Linked DNA regions of Homo sapiens: all the other regions are linked to region 5. The links are contacts of gene promoters, found by promoter capture Hi-C in blood cells and fetal thymus (Javierre and others, 2016). All regions are on one chromosome and are shown on one strand. Each heading gives the region's core, a stretch centred on a gene start or on the middle of the fragment in contact. The rest is flanking DNA. Distances are from core to core; before and after follow the strand shown. Region 1 overlaps MED13L (mediator complex subunit 13L). Region 2 has its middle 4.8 kb from the start of LINC00173. Region 3 has its middle 41 kb from the start of MAP1LC3B2. Region 4 has its middle 60 kb from the start of LINC02463. Region 5 holds the start of MED13L (mediator complex subunit 13L).

What was found. The method cuts DNA at HindIII sites, captures the fragments that hold promoters and counts their contacts. A CHiCAGO score of 5 or more calls a contact.
Region 1: a contact is called between a fragment that was not itself captured here and the fragment with the promoter of MED13L in region 5, in 15 of 17 cell types (megakaryocytes, M2 macrophages, non-activated CD4 T cells and 12 more). The highest score is 11.8, in megakaryocytes.
Region 2: a fragment that was not itself captured here is called in contact with the fragment with the promoter of MED13L in region 5 in 17 of 17 cell types (total B cells, monocytes, naive B cells and 14 more); the score reaches 31.1 in total B cells.
Region 3: a contact is called between a fragment that was not itself captured here and the fragment with the promoter of MED13L in region 5, in 17 of 17 cell types (monocytes, naive B cells, megakaryocytes and 14 more). The highest score is 23.3, in monocytes.
Region 4: a fragment that was not itself captured here is called in contact with the fragment with the promoter of MED13L in region 5 in 1 of 17 cell types (neutrophils); the score reaches 5.1 in neutrophils.

Annotation. Positions count from the first base shown.
Region 1 is chr12:116,005,309-116,008,008 of GRCh38, reverse strand. It overlaps MED13L (mediator complex subunit 13L), which reads left to right. Exons shown (of 31, transcript NM_015335.5): 11 at 373-598; 12 at 1,598-1,703; 13 at 2,016-2,140. Among named protein-coding and RNA genes, the nearest start is that of LINC02463, 120 kb to the right of the region's middle. The HindIII fragment of the contact is 5,074 bases long and covers 1-2,700 here.
Region 2 is chr12:116,536,906-116,539,605 of GRCh38, reverse strand. No RefSeq gene overlaps it. Among named protein-coding and RNA genes, the nearest start is that of LINC00173, 4.8 kb to the right of the region's middle. RefSeq lists an enhancer at 1,992-2,221. The HindIII fragment of the contact is 184 bases long and covers 1,294-1,477 here.
Region 3 is chr12:116,599,130-116,601,829 of GRCh38, reverse strand. No RefSeq gene overlaps it. Among named protein-coding and RNA genes, the nearest start is that of MAP1LC3B2, 41 kb to the right of the region's middle. The HindIII fragment of the contact is 266 bases long and covers 1,188-1,453 here.
Region 4 is chr12:115,944,817-115,947,516 of GRCh38, reverse strand. No RefSeq gene overlaps it. Among named protein-coding and RNA genes, the nearest start is that of LINC02463, 60 kb to the right of the region's middle. The HindIII fragment of the contact is 1,549 bases long and covers 527-2,075 here.
Region 5 is chr12:116,276,331-116,279,030 of GRCh38, reverse strand. MED13L (mediator complex subunit 13L) reads left to right here and starts at 1,338. Exons shown (of 31, transcript NM_015335.5): 1 at 1,338-1,971. The coding sequence starts at 1,900. RefSeq lists silencers at 930-989, 1,040-1,509. The HindIII fragment of the contact is 4,130 bases long and covers 1-2,613 here.

The DNA of each region.
Region 1 (2,700 bases), core at 173-2,672, 270 kb after region 5:
TTTATAGCTCTTTTGAGCCACCCATTCTAAAACTTTACATAGATGATCTCATTTAATCTTCACTGTACCATATTATTACGTTAATTTTATAACTGAGAAACTAGGGCCATGCAGTTAGTAAATGACACAGATGGAATTTGAAACTAGGCAGTCTGTCCTGAGAACCTGTGCTCTTAAGTGGAATTGATGGACCCAGAGACAAAAACATATATTCTTGACAAAGTATGCTAATTTTTATTTAATCATGAATATAAACTGTAAAAGCAAATCACTATATCGGTGAATTTTTAGTTGTTTTTACAAAAAGTTTAAACTTTGTAAATGCTTTAAGGCATAAATGCTCTTTTTTTTTTTTTTTTTTTTGTCTTTTAGACTCTTAGCACAACCTAACAAACGGTTTAAAATCTGGCAAGACAAACAGCCCCAGTTGCAGCCACTCCACTTCCTTGACCCATTGCCTCTATCACAACAACCTGGAGACAGTTTGGGAGAAGTGAATGACCCATATACCTTTGAAGATGGTGACATAAAATACATCTTTACAGCCAACAAGAAATGCAAACAAGGGACGGAGAAAGATTCCCTGAAAAAGAATAAGGTACCATTTAACAGAGAGAGAGTCCAGCATGGTGTGGGTTTCTATCTATGTCAGTACAACATGTGTGGGAAGACTTTGGAGGCAGAACGTTTGAGATAGTCTTGCCTGATTGCTCTGTCCCCATATTCATGCTCTTGGTACTATTGTATTGAACAGCGTATTGTTCCTTTTTATGTCATGGCTCACCTTTGTTTAAAAGTCAGCCGAACATAAATGAAGCCTCATATTTTCCAGGCTATAGCTTGTACAGTGCATGTTTTCTCTCATATGCTAATTCTTGTTGGCCTATGCTCCCTATTTCTTTTAAAATATTATTCCGAACTACCCAAAATGTAAAGGAAAAAATGTTTGTAACAGTAGGTATACACAATTTATCGAGCGCTTCTTATCCTTACTGTGCTGAGCGCTGTACCTATATATTCTCTGGGTTAATATCAACTCTACCCATAGACTATCAGTATTAATTTTACTGGTTTCATCATCATAAAAATGAGTACTGGTTGTGTCTGCTGTCTTTAATTTCAAATTTTCAGACATTCTAAAATATGGGCCATTGAAATAGGTATTCTTGAGAATCAAGGAAATAAAACAATTATAAGAGGCCGGTATAGTTAGGGGAATGCTTTTTAGATTGTTTTATACAGATCTCCCTAGACCCAGAAAGCCAAATCTATAATTTAGCATCTAAAATGTTGTTAAAGGCAGCTTTTAACACCATGGCAGGTCTGTAATCAAATGCCACCAGTACTGCTTAGGCATAAAACACTGATTCACTCAGAATACCCCATAGGATTGAGGGGAAAGTGGGGAGCTCATGGTTCTGTTGAAATTCCAGAGAAAGGACCTATCTTTTACTTCCTTTGGTTGCATAGACCATGGTTTATCATACTTGTGCTCATAACAAGTTCCATTCTACCCTCTAATTCTTTGTGTTCTCCCTCATATTTCACACTTTGGGTTGGTGTTCATGTGTTTTGTTTGGCTGAATTTATTATACAGTCAGAGGATGGATTTGGTACCAAGGATGTCACTACACCAGGTCATTCCACGCCGGTGCCTGATGGGAAAAATGCCATGTCTATTTTCAGTTCTGCTACTAAAACAGGTGTGTACAATGATTATTTGCCTCACTTGGATTGTTGCTAAAATGAAATGCAAAGGAGATGCTTCTCAATGTAAAATTTTATTCTTATTGTAATAAGAATTTCATCTCATCTTTAATATATTTTTCATAGTTTGTTTTTCAGTTCCTTTCAAAACTGATAAACATATTTGGAAATAATTGTCTCTAAATTTAACTAAAACCATAGGGAAAAACTCACAGGCAGGTCATGTTCATTGAGATCCGTGTCCTCTCCCTACTCCTTTGCGCTTGGTGGAGTTGTTTATTCTGTGTCTTTTGCCTCCTTTCCTACAGATGTCCGGCAGGATAATGCTGCTGGCAGAGCTGGCTCCAGTAGCCTTACACAGGTAACAGATTTGGCACCTTCCCTGCATGACTTAGACAACATCTTTGATAATTCTGATGACGACGAACTTGGGGTGAGTTTGCCGTAGCTACATAAACAAAAATTTCGCTACATGAAAGGACTTTATATCAGTGTTGTAGTATTTCTTTATAGTTTGGTGTCCTGAATTTGGGGGCTCTTATTTCAGGTTCTGAATGTTCTTTATAAATGTCTGTATACTGGAATCTAGTCATGCTGTATAAAAAAAGTTTGTATACTTGGAAAAGATTGTAAAGGTTATTAGTGTAGTGTATCCACCTCGAGTTTTGTTCATTGAAGGATCTTTTTCATTAGTGTATTCCAGTTGTACATATTAAAATCTCTCACATTTATTGTAATAAATTCTTCTAAATATCACAGGACTACTAGAAATGTATTACATTGTCCCTTAGGTTTGATTTTTAAAGTAATGCCCACATAACTTTTTATTCATCTAATAAGTCAGAGGTTAGGTATGCAAATATGATTTATACTTTTTAAGATCATGGCATCATTGTAGGGGAATAGAATTTATATACATAGAAGTTAAATACTACAAGGCAGCATACAATTAAAATGACAGAGAAGAATAATTATTATAATTCTTTGGAGATC
Region 2 (2,700 bases), core at 136-2,635, 260 kb before region 5:
AGCTGTGTTTGAAATGCATTGCAGGGCCTGGTACACAGACACCAGCTTTCCAGACACTCAGAGGACAGAATAGTGGTTTGTAAACATCCTCCTAAACGGAAGCATGACATGGCTTGCTCATGTAAGTTCTCCTGGAATGGTGATGTAAGCTCCCAGGACCAGGAGGGAATAACAGGAATTGGGATGTTTTTCTCCATTCTGGCAGGATCCTACCTACAGGGAGTCCCCAGAGGCTGCCTGCCCTGGGGGCACAGAACCCAGAGACTAGAAAAAAACTGTGCAAAGGTATCCTCTTCCTTCTCTTTTCTGGGAAGCTGCTCCACTTACATGTTAAGGTCTGCATCCTTGGCCAATAAATCAGAAGCCCACAAATCTTGACCCCATCTGCAAGGCCGTGGGTGCAAAGGGCAAGAGATGGGAATCGGGAGGTGTGGTTTCTCAGATCCCCTTGGCACTCATTTGACGTGTTGTCAGTTTCCTGCCTCTTTCTGAGCTATTGTTCCTTAATTTAGGGTAAGTAGACATAGATTCCAGAAAAATTGCTGATTTGCAAGTTTAAAAAATCTGGGGTGTCCTTTGTTTAAATAAAAGTGTACAAGGAAACTGAATCTACAAAGAGACACAAGAATTGCTGGATGGTTGAAATAGAGGAGGGGAATCCCATAGCCACAGGTCACCCAGCCACCTGCTCTCTTCCACTGGCTTCCTCCTTCCCGCACATTTTGAAAACTACTGACTAGAGTGAATTCCTGCAGCAGGGGCGGGGCTGGAGGCACAGGGCAGGATAGAGCATGGAGGAGGGAGGTGGTCCCGGTGGTGGTCTCTAGCAGCATGAAGATGCAGAGGAGCTGCTGTATGGGTCTGCCTGCCCATTAGTGACAGTGTGACACGGGAGTTTAGGACATCAGGTCTTTTTGTCGATTCCTCCTTCTTCTGGTAAGAGCACCCCAGTTTTCTTTGGGGGAACCACTCACTCTTACTGTGTCCAGGTGGTCTGGCTGGGCTTCAGCAGTGACTGGAACCTGGGCACTTAGATCAGTCCATCCCTGTTGCCAGAGTCACTGCTTCAGCAATGGGCAGCTGAATCTATCAGAGCACACTAAACCTAACCCTGGGACTTTTATGGAGGCAACCAGGAAAAAGGCTGGATTTGACTCTGGAAAGATGTAAAACAGGTGAAGTGAGCCAATCTAAACATGAAACCAATACAGGGAAAAGCAAAGCCAAAAAGCTAGAGAGAGGGAAATTCCTAAAGACTTAACTGAGGGCCTGGATCCAGCCATGCCTGAAGCTTATCCAGACCTTGCTTCTCAAATAATACAATGTACATTTTCCATCCGGTTTAAGTTCATCTAAGTCAGGATTTTGTCACTTTGCAACTGAAACCTCATGACCAATACACATGGGCAGTTTATTTAACCTCTTTCAGTTTCCATTTTCTCATTTACCAAGTATCTCTAAAAATCTATATAAAGCTTACCTTCAAGCAGATCTGTACATATACACACATATATCACAGCAGCAATAAGATATTATCAATAGTGGTAACTATTTTGCATATGCATTAGTGTTAAAGAAGGCAAAACAAAGATTGGTTAATATCAGTTCACTTTCTTTTCTAAATGAGAATGGAGGGGGAGTAAAAGTTAAATAAATGTCCATTACCAACGGGAATGGAGGAAACAGGAGGAGGCCACGTGCTGACCAGAAAATGGGGAGGGGTCTGATGGAGGCTGAGGTTCCCACAGTTCTGCAGATGGAGGCTGAGCCCGAGGGAAACCCCTCAGCCCCTATCAGCCCCCAGGTCCTTGAGGCCTGGGAAAACCAGAGGGACAACTGAGATAGATCTGTCTTAGGAGCAGAAGGTTCAGAGGCCCAGACCCTATAAATGTGGGTCATGCCCCAAAGAAGACACTGCAGCTCATGGCCAACTTGATGCATGGGGCCAGATCTTCCCTGGACAGACAAACTGGCCTTTTGTGGCCGAGAGAGCTGTTCCCGGGGATTGCCATCTTGGAAGGCCATTGTGGTCTGCTCAGGAACCCTTGAAATCGAAAGCCCTGCGCTCTCCTTGTCACAGCCGTCGCACATAAATACCACCAGGGGGGATTTCCCATGGAATTTTTTGCAACCACTCAAATGTTTCATTTCCCATTGTTTGCCAGTCCCTCTCAGAGCCTCAACTGTCAAAGCAGCAGCAAACACAGGCTGCTTTTCCCCCAGGATCCCATGGCGCTCGCTCTTGCGTCCCCTCCATGTTGGGAAGCTGGCATTGGCAGGATATCATCAGCTCAGGCCCGGGAATAAGGTCTGTTAGTCAACTAGTGAAGCAAGTCAGCGAAGGGAATACCCGGCCCTGCCCAGCCCATGCTTGCTGGGGAGGCACAGTTCTGTGCAGTCACCCTCGTTATAATTATCATCATGGTGACGAATAATTGCATTTATACAAAGAAATTCCTTCCACACATCTGAAGCACTTGACCAAAAAATACACAATGCAGCATTAATGTTTCACTTTTAGAATATGAACTTGGCCGGGTGCAGTGGCTCACCCGGGTGCAGTGATTAAATGCCTGTAATCCCAGCACTTTGGGAGGCTGAAGTGGGCAGATCACTTGAAGCCAGGAGTTCGAGACCAGTCTGGCCAACATGGCGAAAGCCCGTCCCTACTAAAAATACAAAAATTAGCCCGGGTGTGCT
Region 3 (2,700 bases), core at 71-2,570, 320 kb before region 5:
TCCCCAGGGCCCACTGAACTGGATTGAAACACCTCTCTACAGTGCCTAAGTTGGCCTGAGTCTTGCTTCCTGATCCACCTCCCTCTAGCTGTGAGTCACCCCAATTAGTCACCATGCCTGAGACCCACCATGCACTTTCCTATGCCCTTTGGGTTGGAAAAAGAGCTTTTCTAGAGAGGAAACCCACTCTTGGAGTGTGCTCAACTTGTGCCAGTAGTGAAGGAGTTAATTTGCCTAGGGTTTGTATTGTCAGACTCACCAGATGTTGCTGCCAGTGAGTTGGGGCTCAGATATGACTACCACTTGGTGTCAGGAGGGACACCATTTGTTCCAGAGAGCCCCAGGCACCCGTTCAGGGAAGGGCAAAGCCACCAGACACATGGAACCACCCTAAAAGAAAATAAAGACTCCCTTCCTTCCTTTACTCTTTATTTTTAAATTTTATTTTTAAAAAAGTATTTTTCTATGTAGAGAGAGATCTCACTATGTTGCCCAGGCTGGTCTAAAACTCCTGGACTCAAGCGATCCTCCCACTTTGTCCTCCCAAGTTCCGGATTACAGGCATGAGCCCACCATGCCCAGCCTACTCTTTAAACTTTTCAAAGCAGCTTCACATACATGCCTCAACAGATCCCCTCCATATCTCTGAGCAACAGGTAAGATGAATGTCGTGCCCATTTGACAGGTGGGAAAACTGAGGTGCCGATCAGAGAGTCTTATCCTCAATAAAGAAAGGTTTCTGGATGGGGAAGAGCAGGCACAGGGGTATTTCATGTCTCATAGCAAGTTGGTGGCTGAAATGGAACTAAGCAAAGTCTTCTGACCTATTTTCTATGAGGTTTTCATTCATTTGTTTTTCAGATATTCATTAAATGCTTATATGTCAGACACTGTGGTCATCTCATAATAATGATTATAGCTAGAGTTGTCTCTACAATCCTACACTTTCTACCTACAAGTCCCATTGCTAAATTATTTACGTGCCCTCTCTCATTTCAATGCGCGACAGCCACCCTTTGAGGTATGATTACTATTACTATCCCCAGACACAAGTAAGGACACTGAGCTTGCCCAAGGTCACTTAGCTCCTGAGCGGGTGCTGGGGTGTAAGGACTTCAAGCCTGTGCTCCTTTACTGCTTTGCTGAGGCTTGTTATCTGCACTGGGGTGGCCTACCCTCTTGAAGCTTACTCTTTTTTTTGAGACAGAGAATCTTGCTCTGTTGACCAGGCTAGAGTGCAGTGGTACACGGCTCACTACCATCTCCACCTCCTGGTTCAAGCGATTCTCCTGCCTCAGCCTCCCGAGTAGCTGGGATTACAGGTGTGCACCACCATGCCTGGCTAATTTTTGTATTTTTAGTAGAGATGGAGTTTTTCCATGTTGGCCAGGCTGGTCTCAAACTCCTGACCTCAGATGATCTGCCCGCCTTGGCCTCCCAAAGTGCTGAAGCTTACATTCTTATAAGGAGATAAATATACCAGTTTTCTGAGGTCTGGCCTTCACCTCTAAGACCCTCCAAGCTATTCCTTCCCAATAAGGAATATTCCAAATAGGAGAGAAAGGATGCAGACGTTGATTAAGCCCCTTCCATGGGCCAGGCACACGCATATCCATTTTCCATACCACCTAGCAAATTGGCTACAGAGGGTACTGAAGAAATCAAGGCTCATTGGGTTGACATGGTTGTTCAAAGCTGGCATACTTGGTTTTCAGGGAGTGGAGACCTGGCCTTGGATGGTGATGCCATCTGACTTGCCTTTTCTGCCAGCCAGCTCTGGCTCTCCTGGAGGACAAGTGACGGGGGAAGAGTTTGCCATGAGTCTTTAGGTCACGTAACTACGGAAGCAGTTCTCTTGAGGCTTGATACGTGATCTTTATACAAACCCTCCTCGGGACAGGAGCCAGAAAGTCACTCTCCCACCCATTTTGGGACAAGGGAGGTGGGGGGAGGACCCAAGACCGGATCCCGGCAGAGTCCCGCTGCCCACGACAGGCAGCAGGTGGCGCCATGGCCCCGGTTTAACAAGGACACCGGGAAGGTGGAAAGGGTGGGTGGGTGGGGCGGGGTGGGGGGCGTGGGGGTTGCGGTTGGACTCCAGAAAGAAAAACTAGTGGAAAACAAGGCTTTAAAAGAAGAACAATTTGTTCCAAAACACTTGCCTTGTAACGGGGTCATCTATAAATTCTGGGATTTCCTGTTGGCCTCGGGGAGGGCAGGCAGGCCGGCCGGCGGGCAGGCCACTGTCTTCTCTGCAGTCTGGAAGAATCATTTCCAGCCCAGCTCACGAGCTCCAGCCTCCCCTGGCCCAGATTGGCTCTGAAATTTCCCAGCTTTCGTGCCCGTAAGCAGGATCCTGTGACAGCAGCGTCTCCTTGAGCGGTGCTCCAGTTTCCACTGGGTTGGGAGGAGGCGTGAGATCATGGTCATTTTTTAAAGGAGAGGCTGTCTTCGTGATCTCCCTGTTCCGTCTCCACCATCGGACTTGTTCCAAAACAATCAAAGACGTGGAAACAATAAAATGAAAGAGATGGAAGTAGCCCTTTTAAAAAGAAGACAGCTGTTCCTGTCAATACGGGGACGGAAAAGAGAAAAAGAGTTGGAAACAAATAATTTTTAAGCCCAGGACTGGCTACTTGGTTAACAGATGTGGCCTGACCTCGCTCTACCCAAATCACTTCATCATGGGCTCTGAGCGGC
Region 4 (2,700 bases), core at 52-2,551, 330 kb after region 5:
CATTAGTGTTGGGAGGGTTCGAGATGTCATCGTATCATCTTACAGATGACATTAACCTTGAACCCTTGGTTAAGGCTGCGTCTTCTGGATTTCTCCACCGAAAAGTTATTTCCCTCGCAAATATTTTGGAATGAATAAATTCTAGGAAATACCGCAGAAGCTCAGATACATATTTGTTATGTCCTAGATTTTCCACCAGGGGACGATGTTCACTGACAAATCTTAATGGGCAAAAGTCAAGGGATTTGAAAGCAGGGGGCCAAGGCCCTGGGGGGCTGGTCTGAGTCCACTCTCCCAGGGCAGCCCTCGTTTAGGTGAAGAGCCCCAGGGGACAGATTCCCGGTTGGGCATAGGTGCCAGGTGTAGGGGTGGCTGAGAAGAGCAATCTGGCTTGGCAAATTTATAGTGCATAGAAGACTGAGCTAAGAGGCTGGTAGCTGCTGGGGGGTGGGGGGTCTGCGCGCACGTGTGTATGCACACATGTGCATGTGTGTGTGCACGTGTATGTGTGTGAGGAGGAGAAGCTTTAATGTTGTTACATTCAATACCTTGGCGTTCATTAGACTTGAAGAAGCCAAAGCAAATATCCTTCCTATGGTGCCTCCCTGCCCCTGTAAACCCCCACAGACACCTCGGGAAAGGCCCGTGGGCCCCGGGCAGAAGGGGACCTGCATGTGAAATGGCTCCTGGTAGCCTCAGAGATTTTAGGCTTGGAGCAGACCCAGGGCATTGGAGATATCATTTCTACTTAATTAAATTTTAATCCAATAGGATGTTTAGAAATAATACAGACTGCAAAAGGGCATGAGGGAACTTAGTAGAGTGAGAGGAACATCTCTGTTTTAGTTGGTGGTGTTATATTTGTCAAAGCACAGGGAATTATCCATTTAAAATGGGTGCATTTAAAAAATAATTCAATTGTGGTAAAAATACACATAATGTGAAATGTACCATCTTAACCACTTTTAAGTGTACAACTCAGTAGGGTTGAGCAGCTCCACAGTGCCGTGCAAACAATCTCCAGAACCTCTTCCTCTTGCAAAACAAACCCTGTGCCCATCAAACGCTAACTCCCCAGTCGCTGACACCACTATTCTTTCTGTCTCTGTGATCTTGACTCCTCTAGGCACCTCCTATGAATGGAATCACGCAGTATTTGTCCTTTTGTGACCAGCTTATTTCACTTGGCATAATGTCTTCGAGTTCACCCCTGTGTAGCAGGTGCCAGAATTTCCCTCCTTTTCTAGGTGGAACCACACTCCATTGCATGTATATACCAGATTTTGTTGATCCCTTCAGGCTTCAGTGGACACTGGCTTGCCTCCACCTTTTGGGTATCGTGACTAATGCTAAAATGGACATGGCCGTACACATTTTGGAATTGTTAGATCACAGAGTAATTCTGTTTTTAATTGTTTGAGGAAGCGCCATGCTGCTTTTCACAGTGGCTGCACCACAATGGTGCATTTTTTTAAAGAATAGAAATGACTTTAAAAAGAGCACATTTGATAGCTCCTGTGGCGTTGTGGGGGAAGGTGTCTTTTCTTCCTTCCCAGTTCATGAGGGCAGGGCTTCTAAATATTCTTCCTAGGTCCATGTAGCTCCAGACTCATTTCTGGCTCTAATTTTGCCCCCTGAAACCAACAGGAAGATTAATAGGCATTTGTTAATAGCTCCCAGGCCTACAGGCCCCCAAACAAAAACAAACATCCCCGTCCTGGGCCAGCCCCACACATCTGCCCCACTCTACCTCCTGACTTGTGGACGTTTTTGGAATTGGGCATCTCGGTTGGATGTGGCCTTCTAGACATCTGGCAGTGAAACCCTGGCACGCTGGGCACTCTGGCTTCCTGGTCCCTTTCCATCCCAGGAGGAAGACAGTGATTTACAGGAGCAGTGCTGGCCTTCCTGAGGATTTGACTCAAGTAAAAGCCTCCAGGGGCCTGAACTGTCCTGAGATTTTTAATTGGGTTGCTGGAGAGATATTCTTGCCTTCTTCCCTTCTGTATTAGTCTGTTCTCACGCTGCTAATAAAGACATACCCGAGGCTGGGTAATTTATCAAGGGGAGAAGCTTAGTGGACTCACAGTTCCACGTGGCTGGGGAGGCCTCACAATCATGGCGGAAGGCAAACGAGGAGCAAAGTCACGGCAAGAGCGTGCAAGTGTGCAGGGGAACCCCCTTTATAAAACCATCAGATCTCGTGAGACTTACTCACTATCGCAAGAACAGCACCGGAAAGACCCGCCCCCGTGATTCAATTACCTCCCACCGGGTCCCACGTATGAAGTATGGGGATTATGGGAGCCACAATTCAAGATGAGATTTGGGTGGCGACACAGCCAAACGCTATCAGCTTCCAAGTAAAGAAGCCTCCACGTCCCTTCAAGTCCTAGGCATAGAAGCCTGACAGGTCACTTGTTCCAGAGCCGGTTGCAAAACTGAGCAAGCAGGGAGATTTCTCTGGTAAGGCCTCTGTAGCTTGTGAAGGCTTCTGAGCTGAGGCCAGATCGGCTCTTTCCTCATCTGTATTCCTGACCTTTCCATCTGCCTGTGGGCGTCCACGATGTCGGGGAAAGCAGCAATACTGTCCACTGAGCTCAAGACCCTAAATCACCCCTGTGCTTTTGCGAATTACTAACACGGTTCCTGAAGGGCAAAAATGTCCTCTAAACGTAGGGCAGAGTTTACAAGTGGGTG
Region 5 (2,700 bases), core at 89-2,588:
TGAGACAGGGCCTCTCTCTGTCACTCAGGCTGGAGTACGGTGATGCGACCTCGGCTCACTGGGCTCACTGCAGCCTCTGCCTCCAGGGCTCAAGTTATCCTCCCACCTCAGCCTTTCGAGTAGCTAGGGCTACAGGCACATGCCACACTACGCCTGGCTAATTTTTGTATTTTTGTATTTTATTTTTTTTGTCATGACGGGGGTTCTTGCTACATTGCTCAGGCTGGTCTTAAACCTCGGCTAGGATTACCGGCGTGAGCCACTGTGCCAGCCATCCACTCTTCCTCTTTTAGCTTAATCTACCTGAAACAGCTGATTGTTCCATGTTTGGAGGCGTATTAGTGAAGACATTGTTTTCTCCTCCCCCTTTTCGGGGATCCATTTCTTGAGGACTGGGAGAGCTTCTCTTCATAGCAGCACTCCTCCGGACTCCCAGGCCATATACACTCAGGAAATGTTGGTTATCCAATGAATGACGCCAGGAAGAAGGGTCTGCTCCCAACACGGCCTTAGCACAGTGCCTGGAAGTTATAACAGATTCTGGCACACAGCAGGAGCTCAGGAAACATTTATGTAATGAATGAATGAATGAATGAATGAGTGCACACAGTAACTAGGAGTAAGGGCTCAATAAACATTTCTGTATTAAACGCACAGTGTCTGGAACACAGTAAGCGCTCCGTCTATGGCAGCCGTGAATATCCCTGGGCGAAGCCTGTGAAACCTTGTCCAAGAGCTTGGCTTCACTGTGCGCGGGTTCGAATCTGGACTCCTCTTCCCAAGTGTGCGACCTCGGGCAAGTGATTTAATCCCTTTGTGCTTTAGTTTTCTCCTCTGCAAAAGGCGGACGGCGGCGCGAGCCTCTGAGGACACATTCCCCAGGGCACTCGGACCCGCTGCCTGGCCCACATCGCGGCCGCCGCGCCACGCCAGCCGGCCTGGGCTGCGAGGGCACAGGCCGGGGGTCCCGCGCCCTCCTCCGCGGCCACCACGGGCGCGCCCGGGACCCACGGTCCCGCCCCGCCACGATCAGTGCACCGCGAGGGGGCGGGGCGGCCACGAGGGGCAGCCCACGGCAGCCACGGGCCGGCAGTCCGCCGCCCGCCGGGGAGCCCGGCCGCCCGCACTTCTTTCTCTCCCTCTCTGCCTCCCTCCCTCCCTCTTCCCGGCCGGAGGACCCGGCCGCGCTCAGCTCAGCAGCGCCTCCCGCGAGCCGCCGCCGCCGCCGCCACTCCGGACCCCTCCCCCGCCCGCCCCTCGCTCCCCCCGCGCGGCCGGCGCCCGTCACGTGACCAAGCGCCAGCCAATGGCGGGCCGAGCCGCGGTCGGCGGCCGCCATTGCTGTCAGAGCAAGCGAGCCCGGGGAGGGAGGAGAAGCGAGGCTGACTGGGGAGGAGGGGGGGGTGGGGGAGGAAGAGGAAGGAGGGGACGTCGCTCGGCTGCCGGGGTCGCCCGCTGGCTTCGTCCGCACCCCCCCCTTCGCGAGTTCGCGCTCCGCGGCGGCGGCGGCTCCGAGGCGGCGGCGGCGGCTCCGGGGCTCGCCTCCCCTCGCGCGCCGGCGGGGGCCGAGGGGGAGTCGGTGGCTGGAGATAAACAAGGCGGCGGCAGCGGCAGCAGCGGCGGCGGCGGCGGCTGAGGAGCAGGGAAGGCGGAGGCGGTGGCCGGCCCGCAGCGCCGGCCCGGGGCGCGCGCCCCCCCCGCCAGCCCGGGCCCGCTGCCCCCGGCGCGGCGTCGCCGCGGCGCCTCCCGCCTGCCCGCCGGCCCTCGCGCCCTCCCCCGGCGGCGGCGGCGGCCCGGCCGCCCCGCGCTCCCCGGCGAGGCGCCGCCGCCCGGCCCGGCCTCGCCTCGGACGCCTCGCTCCGACATGCCCCGCTCTGGCGGCCGGGCTCGCGGAGGATCATGACTGCGGCAGCGAACTGGGTGGCGAACGGGGCGAGCCTGGAGGATTGTCACTCCAACCTCTTTTCGCTGGTGAGTAGCCGGGCTGCGGGGAGGGGGCTGTGCCGGGGAAGGGGGGGGGTCCCCGACCTCCGCCGCCGACCAACTTTCTCCTCCCGCCGCCGGGACTTCGCCCCTCCCTCGCGTCTCCCCGCCGTTCGCCTCTCGCCGATTCTCCCCCTTTTGGATCGTCTCTCTCTCGCCTTGGATCCCATCCAGTGTTTATTTGGCTCTTTAAAAATCATTTGTGAGCGCGGCGCTCGGCGTGGAATTTGCATGTGGAAGTCTCGGAGCTGCGGATTCTGGGTCGCACTTCGAACGCCCACCCTCTGTTGCAATCGCACTCCCCTTCTCCTCCCCTTTCCCCCCTTTTTTTCCCCCCGTAAATGTGGAAGGCTTTGCCTTGTGCTGCCGCGCCTCCGATCGGCAACCTCTTCCCCCGTTGTTGGATCAGCTGCCTGCCCGCCCGCCTGCCTTTTGAATTTTTTTAAATTCCATAATGACACCTGCAATTTCGCCCTAAAATAGTTGATTGAATGCGATTGTGTCAGGAAAGGACTCTTGCACCCGAAGCTCCCGCGATTGTAAACATCGACAGCCGCCTGCCTCTCGGGGCTTACTATGCTGGAGAGCCGTAAAGCCATTGCACCGAGCCGACGGAAGGTGGAGAAAGCTTTTTCTTCTTTCTCTCCTCCTGTGTCTTTTAAAAACTGTTTTTCTCTATCCTAACAACGAATCCGCACACACACACACACACACACA